Regions from separate parts of the Homo sapiens genome. Here region 1 is linked to region 2. Evidence: promoter capture Hi-C in 16 types of primary human blood cells and fetal thymus (Javierre and others, 2016). All regions are on one chromosome and are shown on one strand. The core of a region is centred on a gene start or on the middle of the fragment in contact, and the rest is flanking DNA. Distances in the headings are between cores, read along the strand shown.

Evidence for each region. Contacts are between HindIII fragments. The CHiCAGO score rates a contact against its expected background, and 5 or more counts as called.
Region 1: a contact is called between the fragment with the promoter of BRD1 here and a fragment that was not itself captured in region 2, in 1 of 17 cell types (erythroblasts). The highest score is 5.7, in erythroblasts.

The regions. Positions count from the first base shown.
Region 1 is chr22:49,825,871-49,832,588 of GRCh38, reverse strand. It overlaps BRD1 (bromodomain containing 1), which reads left to right and starts at 4,716. Exons shown (of 13, transcript NM_001304808.3): 1 at 4,716-5,092. It overlaps LOC105377205 (a long non-coding RNA gene), which reads left to right. Exons shown (of 5, transcript NR_188597.1): 5 at 1-140. RefSeq lists silencers at 4,582-4,651, 5,382-5,551 and an enhancer at 6,052-6,251. The HindIII fragment of the contact is 34,147 bases long and covers 1-6,718 here.
Region 2 is chr22:50,189,526-50,195,287 of GRCh38, reverse strand. It overlaps TRABD (TraB domain containing), which reads right to left. Exons shown (of 10, transcript NM_001320485.2): 2 at 2,195-2,261; 3 at 1,634-1,712; 4 at 782-948; 5 at 248-388. The coding sequence starts at 2,227. Among named protein-coding and RNA genes, the nearest start is that of TRABD, 6.5 kb to the right of the region's middle. RefSeq lists enhancers at 3,529-3,678, 3,869-4,088, 4,359-4,718, 4,404-5,018, 5,019-5,633 and 2 more and a silencer at 3,329-3,378. The HindIII fragment of the contact is 1,058 bases long and covers 3,927-4,984 here.

The DNA of each region.
Region 1 (6,718 bases), core at 3,467-5,966, 360 kb after region 2:
TTCATTTCTGTTGCTGTGTGCTATTCCATTGCGTGGATACACCTCACTTTGTCCATTTTACCGTCCTTTGATATTTAAGATTTCTCCCAGTATTTGCTATTAAAAACAGCGTTAAAATAAAAAAAAAAAAACACCAAAAACAGTGTTGCTCTGAACATTCATGCACATGCTTCCTGATGAACAAGTTTCTTTTTTTCTTTTCTTTTTTTTTTTTTTTTTTTAGATGGAGTCTTGCTCTGTTGCCCAGGCTGGAGTGCAGTGGCGCAATCTCTGCTCACTGCAAACTCTGCCTCCTGGGTTCACACCATTCTCCTGCCTCAGCCTCCTGGCTAATTTTTTGTATTTTTAGTAGAGATGGGGTTTCACCGTGTTAGCCAGGATGGTCTCAATCTCCTGACCTCATGATCTGCCTGCCTCAGCCTCCCAAACTGCTGGGATTACAGGCGTGAGCCACGGCGCCCGGCCCTGATGAACAGGTTTCTTAGGCACACACCCAGGCACGGAATGCACCTAGGAATACAAATTGACTTAACCCTACAGCCGGGAATGGGTATGCACACTGGGGGAGCTTGCATCTTCTCAAAGTGGCCACAACAACTTCTCCCATACAGCATGCTTCTCTTAAAATGTGATGATAACACATGTCCCAAGAGGTGGGGTCTGTATTCTCCCTAACTCTTGAATCTGGACAGGCTTGTCCCTATGGCAGAAGTGATGCGTGTGACTTCAGAAGCTAGGATGTGAAAAGTGATACAGGTCCCACCTGCTTCTCTTGAGACCCTTGCTCCTGCAGCATGGCTACTATTCCATGAGGATGTTCCCAAGGCCCTCAGCCCAGAGCCTGGATCAAGGTCCCAGCCACGTGAGTGCACCATCTTGGAAGTGGCTCCTCCAGCCCCTAGTGGAGGTGCCCCAGATAAGGATGCAGGAAGTAGTCTAGTTGTACCTGCTGAATCCTGCCCAAATAGCAGATGTGTGAACAAAAGGAATGACTGCTGTTTTGAGCTACAAAGTTTTGGGGGTGGTTTGTTTTGCAGCAAGAGGTAACTGATAAACATGTCCACTTTCACTGGGTAACGCCTTATGACCAAGATATTTACCAAATAATTGTCCCACTCGACATTCTGGCCAGCAGGGTATTGCTCTGCCATCTTGCCATCGCTGAGTATTGCCACATATGAACGCTGGTGCCTATTTGGTGTGTATTTTGTTTGCATTTCCAAATTTACTAGTAAGATGATTGGCCTTTCCATGTTCTCTGCAAGAAGCCTGATTATGACATGGGTTTCTTTGTTGATTTGGGTTTTGTGCATCATTTTGTTGGCTTGTTTGTCTCTTTCTAATGGATCTGAAGGGGTTCTCTATATATTCTAAATACTAATCATCTGCAAGGTGTACATATCTTTTAGTTTTTCATTCTTCAGTCTCTTTATGGTGCCTTTTGAGGAACAAACATATGATAATTTCCATCCTTTCATTTACGAAATGGAGTCTTGCTCTGTCACTCAGGCTGGAGTGCAGTGGGGCAATCTTGCCTCACTGCAACCTCAGCCTCCTGGGTTCAAGTGATTCTCCTGCCTCAGCCTCCTGAGTAGCTGGGATTACAGGCACGTGCCCCCATGCCTGGCTAATTTTTCTATTTTTAGTAGAGATGGGGTTTCACTATGTTGGTCAGGTCTTGAACTCCTGACCTCAGGTGATGCACCTGCCTCGGTCTCCCAAAGTGTTGGGATTACAGGCATGAGCCACTGTGCCTGGCCCCATCGTTTTATTTTTCATCTGTTATTTTTCAGGTGAATTTCTTGTAAGAATATTTCACCATATTTATATTCCATTCAGAGAGGTTGTCTTTTAATAGATGCATTTAATCCAATCACATTCCTCTGATTACTCAAATGTTTGAACTTAGTTCTGCCAACTCATATTATGTTCTGTATTTATCATGATTTTATCTTTTACTCATTCCTGTTTTTTTTTTGTTGTTGCTGCTGTCGTTTTTCATTTCGCTTTTTCCTCAGCTGTTCTGAAAGTGGTAAATTCTTTTTCCACCATTCTTGTGGAAACTTTCTGATAGTTAAAACTTTTTTTTTTTGTTTTTTTGAGATGGAGTTTTGCTCTTGTTGCCCAGGCTGGAGTGCAATGGCACCATCTCAGCTCACTGTAACCTCCACCTCCCAGTTTCAACCAATTCTCCTGCCTCAGCCTCCCAAGTAGTGGGATTACAGGCATGCGCCGCCACGCCCGGCTAATTTTTTTTTTTTTGTATTTTTAGTAGAGATGGGGTTTCTCCATGTTGATCAGGCTGGTCTTGAACTCCCGACCTCAGGTAGTCTGCCCGCCTCGGCCTCCCAAAGTGCTGGGATTACAGGTGTGAGCCACCATGCCCAGCTAAAATTTTTAACCTTTTTTTCTATCGATTCTAAAATCCTCGAACCAAACAATACAAGAGCTTTCGTGCACTTTCACTTCCTTCTGCGCCCCGCCTTACCATGTGTCATGTTGAGTTCATCCGGGATTTCTCTCAGGTTGATTTTCTTTTAACGGACCAGACTGATTTACTTGCTGGCATCCACGTCTTACTCTTGGGTCCACTTTTCACTTTGTTAAGGTATTTCTTCTAGTACTTTTACAGACTGCGTGTGTGGTAAATGTGGATGTTAACCGGCGGTGAAGACACCTTTATTTTGCTGTCTCACTGGAACGCTAGTTTCACTGTGTATGAGTTACGGTTCAATTCTCTTAGTATTTTGGCAACCCCTCCTCTGTAGGATGAGTCTGAATTCTAAAGAAGATCCTCTCCGAAGGCCTTCCTGAGTATCCCTGTGACATGCCTACGTTCGAGGCTTTGTTCTTCACTCCTCTGAGCATCACCTGCATTGTCTGAGAGGCCACTGTCCCCGTCTCCTCTTCTGTGAAGGGTTTCGTGTCTTTTCATCTTCTCTTTCATGAGACTGTGTCTTACTTTTGCTCTGTGTTGTGGAGAACCTCCAGCTTGGTTTCCATCTGGCTTCCCTGAGGTGGAGGAGAGAAGCGTTCGGGCTCAGCTTGCTTGTTTGGCCACAGGTAAACAGACATCTGTAGAATGGAGGTGACACGAAGCTCCTGGGTCTGGTGCAGAAGAGGTCAGGGCCCCAGTGGCCTGTACCCCCTAAGCTCAAGGGTGTGTCTGCAGGGAGTCCTAGATCAGGACTGACCACTGGGGCCTTGGCTGGGGTCCTACCTGCCCTTGAGTCGTCACGTCACAACCCACACACTGGGTGCCATGGGCATGAGGACTGGCCAGGAAAAGGCCTGTGGGGCCTGGCCCCTATCAGGGACACTTGGGCGAACAAGGCCACCCCACTCCCAATAAGGTGTTTGGTGCAGTGCCCCGAGCAGTGGGGCCGCTCGGCTGCCCCCGTGGGGACGGTCTGTCCCAGGGTGGACAGCTGCTCTTCCTGAGGGGCCTGCCTGGATGCCACAGGCTGTGCTGCTGGAACCCAGGGATTCCACAGCACCATCGTCCTGATCACAAATTCTCAAGGAAACCAAGGAGCTCCTGCCTCACCTTAAAACATTTGGGATTTAATCTTGGAGTGAAAATTGTTATGACCCCACTGAATTTTAGAGTTTACACAAAAGGCCAAAGTGAAGGCAGAGACTCAGGCCTCTCAACTCCCACCCGCAGGGGCCTTTTCTTGCAACCTTAAAGGGCATCTGCTTCACGCCGGCCTCGGCAGGGCCCTCACACTGGCAGGACTACTTGCACACCGGGCCTGACACTCACTAGGGGAGGCTCCCCAGCCCGGCTGCACCACCCACCTCTACCTAGTCGCGTGTCCCGGCCAGTGCCCTTTCCACTCCCACCCAGTGCCCCCGCAGGGCCCCCTCTGTCCTCTTAGGGACCTCCACTCCCGGACCAATAGCCTCCTGCCTCAGGGCCCCCCACTCATGGGCCAATCGCCCCCTGCCTCAGGCCTCCCCCCACTCGTGGGCCAATCGCCCCCTGCCTCAGGCCCCCACCAACTCGTGGGCCAATCGCCCCCTGCCTCAGGGCCCCCCATTCCTGGGCCAATGGCCTTCTGCCTCAGGGACTCCCACTCTCAGCTGGTCCCCCCCGCCTCAGGGACCCCCACTCCTGGCCGTTCCCCCGTCAGGGCCCCCGACTGGCGGCTGCTCCCCCATCCTGCCTCGGGGCCCCCCACTCCCGGGCCAATGTCCTTCTGCCTCAGGTACCCCCACTCCCGGCCCGTCCCCCCGCCTGTGGGCCCCCCACTCCAGGCCGGTGGTAGCCCCTGCCTCAGAGCCGCCCACTCCTGGGCCATCTCCTGCCTCAGCGACCCCACTCCTGGGCCAATGCCCTTCTGCCTCAGGGACCCCCACTCCCAGCCGGTACCCCCCTGCTTCAAAGCCCCCGACTCCCGGCTGCTCCCCACCTGCCTCGGGGCCCCCCACTCCTAGGCCTACGTCCCCCTGCCTCAGGGCCCCTCATTCTCCATCCTCCTGACCCCCTCAGGGACCTTCTGGCCCGGTCCTCCCTAACTCAAGGGCCCCCACTCTCCATCCTCCCGACCCCCCACTCCCAGCCCGGTCCCCGCCGCCTCAGGGCCCCCTTTGGCCCCCGCTCCTCGCGGCGCCCCCTCCCCCGCGCGCGGCCGAGGCAGCGGAGTCCGCGCGTCATGGCGGCGGCGGGCGGGGCGCGTCTCGCACGCAGCGCGCCGGGCGGAGCGCTCGCCGCATTGTTTGCTTCGCTGGGGAGCGAGCGAGCGACCCGGCCCTGGAGTCCGAGCCAGCCCCGCGTCCCGCGCCCGCCGCCCGCCGCCCGCTCCCGCGCCCGCGCCCGCGCCCGCCGGCCGGGCCCCCCGAGCCGGGCCTCCAGCTGGGCCCCGAGCCCGAGCCCGCGCCGCGCGAGCCGCTGCCCGAGAGTCCGCGGCCGCCGCTGCCGGGCCCGGAGCCGCCGCGGCCGAGAGGGGCCCGCGCCCAGGAGCGGCGGCGGGGCCCGGCCTGCGCGGCCGTTGGCGGAGGAGCCGCGGGCGCCATTAGCACCGCCTCGGCCGCGCCGGCCCCCGCGCCCGCCCGCTTGCCGGGCTCCCGCGGCCGCGGCGCCCCGAAGGTGAGTGGGCGGGGGCCTGGCCGGGGAGGCCTCCCCGCCGCCTCGCGGGCCGCCCGGCCGCCGCCGCCGCCTCGGCCCGGCCTCTCGGGGTTGTGGTGCCGACGCCATGTTTGGCGGCGGCGGCGGCGGCGGCGGCTCCGCATTGTCTGCGGGCCGGGAGCCCGGGATGCCGGGGAGGCCGGGCGGGGAGACCGGGGAGGTCGGGCCGGGCGGCCGGGGAGACGGGCGGGAAGACGGGGAGGCCGGGCGGGGAGACCGGGTAGGTCAGGCCGGGGAGTCGAGGGAGGCCGAGTCGGGCTGTGGGTCTCGGCGGCCTGGGCCGCGGGCGCCTGCCCGGAGTCCGCGCTCGAGTCGGGTCGGGCCTCGGGCAGCCGCCGAGCCGGCCGGGCCGCCCCTTATGTAACAGACAGGCCCGCCGAGCTCTGCCAAGACGGGAACTCCCTGTGAGCAGGGACGCGCCCCGAGATCGCCCAGGAGCCGCGCGGCCTGCGGCGGCCGGGCTTGGGAACCGGCACCGCGGCCTCCCCGGGCGTTTGCAGGGAGACGCCTCGCGACGAACGCGAGGCTTCCCCGGGCCTTTTAAAACGAGTGACACGATTGAGGCGCAGTTCACGGGAAACGCGGCTCTTGTGAGCGGACGCGGGAGTTCTGAGAATCCGTAGCAGCGGGACCCCCTGCCCCGCGGGGTGCGGCCCCGTCTCCCCAGAAAGCGCGGCCGCCCGTGTCTGTTTTTGAGGGTCTGTCGCCAGGTGGTTGTGTAGTTAGTGGAATCGGCGGATGTTTTTGTTTGGCCGGCCCAGCGCCGTCCCGAGTGCTGTGTGCTGCACACAACTTCGCACAGCTCAGCGGCCGCGGCCCCTGTGGCCTTGACCGAGAGGCCCGGCGCGTGGCCGGCTTCTCCCTGGGCGGGCGGTGGGAAGATGGAAGCGGCCGTCTTGTGGGCAGCCTTCCCCGCCTGTGGCCCGCAGGGCTCTTCGATGTACTTAAGGGAATTATTCCTTGAGAAGCTACGTGTGTGCCCCCGCGGATCCCTCCCAGTGGAAATGCTTGTCCCAGTGGAAGGGCCAGGGACAGAACCGGCCCAGGGGGGAAGCGGTGAAGCAGAGGAGGTCGTGGGTCGCCCTGCCCTGCTGAGGGCCTACTTTCCCCGGGTCCCAGTTGCATGTTGAGGGTATGGAGCTGCTGTGGCCGTGAAGCCTTCGGTTCAGTTCTCCCCTTGTAGAAAGTGTTGCGATGAAGAGCTTCACGGCTCCCTGGGAGAGAGTGGGTTTCCAGGGGCTGCTTGTCGTTAGGGCGACTCAGGACTTTGCTGTCGAGGGGAAAATGACAGGTTCGTTTCTGATCTGGTGAGTAACCAACTGTTGCTTCTGCCCCACCTCAGTAATGACGCGTGTCGGCGTCCCGGGTGCACTAGGGTCGCTCTCTGCAGGCTGTGGTGTCACCTCTGCAGGGCTCACGGGGCCGGCTGGGGGGTGGCTGTGCTGACAGCTCCCCAGGAATCCAGGGTTGAGTGGGTACCTGGAGGCCCTGGAGATGCAGGGGGTCTGAGGTTTGGCCGACCACATTTTCTCTCCTATTCCTTTCTGTAGGTAATTGCAATCTAGTTTCAACATACAATGAGGATTT
Region 2 (5,762 bases), core at 3,206-5,705:
CTCGGGTGACCAGCCCCTGCCTCAGCTTGGAGAGCCACCCATTTCCTCCTCCCTTGCCTGAAACCGGGTAATGGAGCCTCTTTCATTTCTCCTGGCCCAGGGGAGGTCCCTAACCCGGCAATCCCCAGGGCAGGCCAGGCACAGCCACACTGACTGGGGGCATGGGCTGTGAGAGGAACCTGGGCAACAGGCAAACAGGTGGCTTTGACCCCGACCCTGACCCTGACCCTTGCCCGCGGCTGCGCACCTGCCTCACGGCCTGCTGCAGCTTCTCCAGGCTGAGCTCCTGGGCCTCCCGCAGCAGCGTGCTCTCGTCCATCTTCAGCATGGACACACGATATTGGCAGAGCTCCACGACCACCACGTCAGGCTGCACCTCCCGGATGGTCTGCAACAGCCACAGGTCACACCTCGAGAACACAGCCGCTCCCTGCCCCTCAGCACAGCTGACGCCAGCACCAGGGGCCCCATCCCAGGAGCAGCCAGCCTTGGCGTCACCCCAGGGCTAGCTAACCCCGCTGCTGCAGTGACAGCTCAATTCTCTAAGCGACGAGAGAGGAAGCTGTGAGGCTTGTTCACTTGTTAAGTGGGAAAACGCACAAGGCCGTCACGGCTCCCAGGCAGGAAGCCCACCTTGCCACTCCCAGGGACCACAGTGTTGAAGCAGGAGGCCTGCGGTGCGCACACACGGGCACACGGGCCCTGCCGGGAGGTCCCTGAGTGCAGGACACAGGAGCTTACACCAACCCGTGTCCGGGATGTGGCGGGTGGCGGCGCTCACCTTCACAACGTCCCTCTTGCTGTCGTCGCTGAAGTGGGCTGTCCCCACCACGTACACCCTGCTCCCGTCCTCAGCCACCAACTGGGTCACAGTGCGCGGCAGGTTGGGCCGCTGACGCCGCCGCTTCAGCTTCATCTCCAGGAGCAGGTTGAAGGCGTCCACGTCGGCTGCAACAGCAGCACAGGCCGTTGTGGTGCCGGGCCCACCCCAAGGACGCCGCCGGGCCCGCTGGCAGCCTGGGCTCTAGAACCCTCCTGGGTTCTGAGAACTGAACAGGTGCAGAGCACAAGACTCCTGACGAGCGTCACACTCCACAGGCTTTGCCTGCCCAGTGATGGGAACACCGGCTACCACCTCTGTGAGCTGCACGGCTTCGAGAAGCCAGGGCCTCAGGAGTCCTGTGCCCCATACACCCCATGAGGGCGACCTTGGGGGTTGCTGTGGATGAGGTTCGGTGTGGGGGACAGTGGGGGCAGGTGCCGCAGGGGGCTCAGCTAGGGGAGGGGCTCTGAGGCGAAATGGGCCCCCCCACCCCACTCAGGAGGGACAGGCTGAGGCCACAGCAAGGAGGGACTCCCGTGCCGCTCACACTGCTTGTGCTCACGAGCCCCCCATGCCCAGGGGCCTGCCTGTGCTGCTTGCAGCCCCTCCAAGAGGCTCCACTGCCAGGCAGGGCCCAGGAGCAGCTGCTGTTGGGTGGCACCAGGCCTAGCAGCACCTACCTCAGGTCTCGGCCAGGGCCCCTGCTCACCACAAGCTCCAAGCCCCTGGCAGTGGTTGGCTGCCTCCCCCTCCTCCCTGACTCAACAGCCCAACACCGGGGAACGTGCCAGGACCCTGAGGGACACGTACACAGGTTCTGGGGGTCTCCAGAAAGCACCCTGGGCACCGGCTCTGAAGCCTCTGACGGCACAACAGGTTCCACGTTGGCCTGCAGGTGGAAAGGAGAGTTCAAGTCAGGGTCCATGCACCCCAGAAAGCCAGGGCTCCGTGGCAACTCCACGGACCACGTACCCTGGAAAGGGACCCGTGGCCGCTGTGTGGACCACACACCCTGAAAAACGAGGGCCCGTGACCGCTCCACGGACCACGTACCCGGGAAAGGGACCCGTGGCCGCTCTGTGTACCACACACCCTGAAAAGCAGGGCCTCCGTAGAGCCTAGGCCCCACACTGTCAGTACCCCTCCTGCTTGGCCATCACTGGCACGGCTGCCATCAAGCTGGGCAGACAGGGCCACCAGGCCACCTCAGCCCAGCGCCCCTCTCCCTCGGAGGTGCCTCCTGCCTGACCCTGGAGAACCCTGTGAAGATCACCTTTGCAGAACAACAGCCAGGGACCGACCCCGAGAGCCCACAAAGCGGGGAAGCCCCCCGCCCCTGTCTCTGTGCAGCCAGCCCAGCCTCCACCTCACCTCGTGCGGTGGCTGCTGCTCCTCCCCGTCCATGGCTGGGCGGCGGCTTCCTGCACCTGTGGGGAGCCTGAGGAGAGGCATGAGAGGCGGGGTTTCCACCTGGAGCCCCAGACCTGGCTCAGGACTCACTGCGTAGTGCCCTGTCAGTCTAGAACCATCTGTTGGGTGGGCCTGGGGGCTCCTTCCCCCATATCCCCAAATGCCTCCTGCCCATCAAAGGCTGCTGAGGTCCAGGGTCGGTTCAGGTCAGGCCCGGGTGGGGAAAGGCCAGCAGGTCCCCAGACACCCCAGCATAAACCAAACGCAGACGGGCCCAGGGCGGGTTGCTGGTGCACAGGCCTCACTCAGAACAGGGCCAGAGCTGCCCAACCCTCACTGCGGCACGGCGGGCACACATAGGAAGGCAGCCCTGGGGTCCACACATGATCTCAGGACACAGCAACGCAGCTGCTGACACATGGCAAGGACCCCAGGGCCTTTGTACAAAAGCCACTTCCCCTTTCAGTAACTACAGCCTGGGCAACAACACCGGCACAGAGTCAGTACAGACGGAGGAATCCACAAAGCACACAAATCAACGTGTTTGGACCTAAGACCTTCTCTCCCACTTTAAGAGACAAACATGGTGTGGAAGGAACCACGGTAGAAACCCGGACAGGCTGGGGCAGCCACACGAGGGGGCTGCCCCGAGGCATCACAGCTCCCCACAGACTCTCAGAAACCAGGAGCTCAGGCCGGGGGCCCAGGAGCCTGAGGGAAGGAAGAAAACAGCCAGGCGCCTGCAGCACCAGAGGCACGCACCGGCCAAGACCCACAGAGCATCGGCGAGACCTGCGCGGAGCCCCTCGAGGCGGGGCCAGGGACCAGCAGGCTGTCCTGAGACTGGCCACAGGCCCTGCTGCACCATGTGGCTCTTCCTGAATGTTCTCAGCCACGGAATGCCAGGAGTGACTGTTTACCAAGTTAATGGCTCATGCATGTCCTGGCGGATGGATGTGTCACCAGGCAGAATCATTAAAATATCCCAAACAGGCCAGGCGCGGTGGCTCACACCTGTAATCCCAGCACTTTGGGGGGCCAAGGTGGATGGACTGCCTGAGCTCAGGAGTTCGAGACCAGCCTGGCCAACATAGACCATCCTGGTGAAACCCCATCTCTACCAAAAATACACAAATTAGCCAGGCGTGGTGGTGCACACCCGTAATCCCAGCTACTGGGGAGGCTGAGGCAGGAGAATCACTTTGAACCCGAGAGGCTGAGGTTGCAGTGAGCCGAGATCCTGTCACTGCACTCCAACCTGGGTGACAGAGGGAGACTCTGTCTCAAGAAAAAAACAAAAGTAAAAAATAAAAATGAGCCGTTGGAAACCATTCTGAGCTGTCTAGTCGTGCAAGGTATTGTGGTTTTGTCTTGAAGCGTCTGCGTCAGTCAGACACGAGCATCTGGCGAGGAAACGACGGGGCTTGTAGGATGTGCTTCAGAGGGGCCACTGCCGGGTTCTGCACTGATGCCTGCGTGCATCTGGGGTCATTTTCATGTCACTACTGCTGCCCACTTCTCAGAACTCATAAGAAAAAGGAACAATGAGCAATAAGACGCTATGTCAGGTTCCTTTCCTCTGCAAACCCTGTTGGCACACAGCCACAGCAGGCACAGACCTCGGCCCCAGCCAGGACTCACAGACCCAGCTGGGTCCTGGCCACCCACATCCAAGTTAAGATGCCTCCAAGCTTGGGTGTCCTAACCTGTGAACAGGAAGGAGCTCTCTGTGCAGTGTCTAGGAGGGCAGCTCAGGGGCTGGGGGAGCAGGGACGGCTCTGAGCAGGGGAAGAGGCCTGTCTCAGTGCAACCAGAGGCCCCATCTGAAGCTGGCCGAGAAGAGGGCAGCCCACCCTGCCCTCTTCTTGGACAGCCGGGACTTCTGGGAGAGGAACTGGCCTGGCTTGGGGTGGGTGGTGCAATGGGGCCATGGTCGGGGGAGGTCAGCTGAGACTAAGGAGACAGCTGATAAACACCAGGCTCATGTCCCCGGGGGCCTTGAGCCTCTGCAGAGGGCAAGGGGGGCCCGCTCCACAGGCAGGCTCCCCTATGGGGCCTCACAGCCTTGGCAGGGGGTCCCACTCCTTGCCACCTGGGCTTGAGTCTGGACCCAACCCTGGCCTGGGCGTCTTAGCGGTTGGCACATCCAGGAAGTGCAGCTGGCACCGGTCACAGCAGGACCAGGCCCCGGACCCTTGGGCCGCCTCCTTCCCCTTTTGTAGGTGAAAGCTCCACGATGCAACCCGACCGGAACCCACCGGAAGCTGTTGTGAGCAGCCGCCAGGCCAGCCAGCCCAGACAAGCACCCGGTCCGGGAGACGGCCGCCTCCCTGGGTCTAGCTACACACACAAGCCAGAACTCTTAGGAGCAGCGCAAGACTGCCGGGGCGCACGGGGGAAACTCACACACGGAAGTCCGGACCATTAGAGCAGCGCAAGGCTGCCGAGGCACACCGGGGAAACTCCTTAAAGAAACTCCTGTGCAGCCGGGCGGGAGGCTGCGTCGGCCCAGCCAACAGGAGGCGCCCACGTCGCCACAGCCCTTCCCCCATGGGTGTGGCAGCCCCAGGTCTGCGGTCAGCCCCCACCCTCCACCCAGCCTGGCCAGACCCGCCTCTGAGGCCGGCCTAGGGTACGCCTGTGGCCATGGACAGGGCAGGGTCTCGGTGCAGCAGCAGGCGCTGGTCCTGACCCCAGTCGTGCCATGGGGTGGGCGTGCACAGGTCTCCTGTCAGGGAGGGCAGAGAAGCTTTCCTGGGCCGGCTGCCAAGCCTTGAGCAGGACGATGTCAGCGCCACCAGAGGCAGTGCCAGCCCCCAGCCCTGGCCCCTGCAGCCTCTCAGCAGAGGCGTGCTGCCCGCAGGGAGCCAGGCGGGAAGGTCACTGAGGACCCCCCAGCACCTAAAGCCCGTGATTCTGGGGGACGTCTCTGACAGTCACTCTTACAGTCTCAACACTCTCTTTCCCTCCTCGCCAAGGCCCCTGGAGAGCTCTAGGGTGTGATTTCAGGTTACCAGCCCTCCTCCCTCTAGTCTGCTCCCAGGCAGCTGTGCTCTCAGACATTTATGGCTGGGCCCAGAGCCTCTCCCAGCTGCCTGGCGGTGAGCAAAAGGCCCTGGCCCAAAAGCCACAGATGCTGAGCCTGGACTCTGAAGTGTCTTCAGAGACAATGTCTGAAGAACCCCCACCTGGTTCCCAGCCCCACAACCTCTGGGTCCCAGCAGAGCATCACCTGGGGTCCGGCCAGCACACACTGCAGCCACCCCCTCTGGGTCCCAGCAGAGCATCACCTGGGGTCCGGCCAGCACACACTGCAGCCACCCCCTCTGGGTCCCAGCAGAGCATCACCTGGGGTCCGGCCAGCGCACGCTGCAGCCACCCCCTTTCTACCTGTCCTTTTCAGATACGCTCAGGCCCATCAGCAGAGACCAGCAGACCCTGGCTGCCCCTCCGGGGGGACAGACATCTCTCCTTCCCAAATCCCCAGTGCTGGCACTGCCCCAGGGAACCTCGCAGTGGCTTCTGGCCT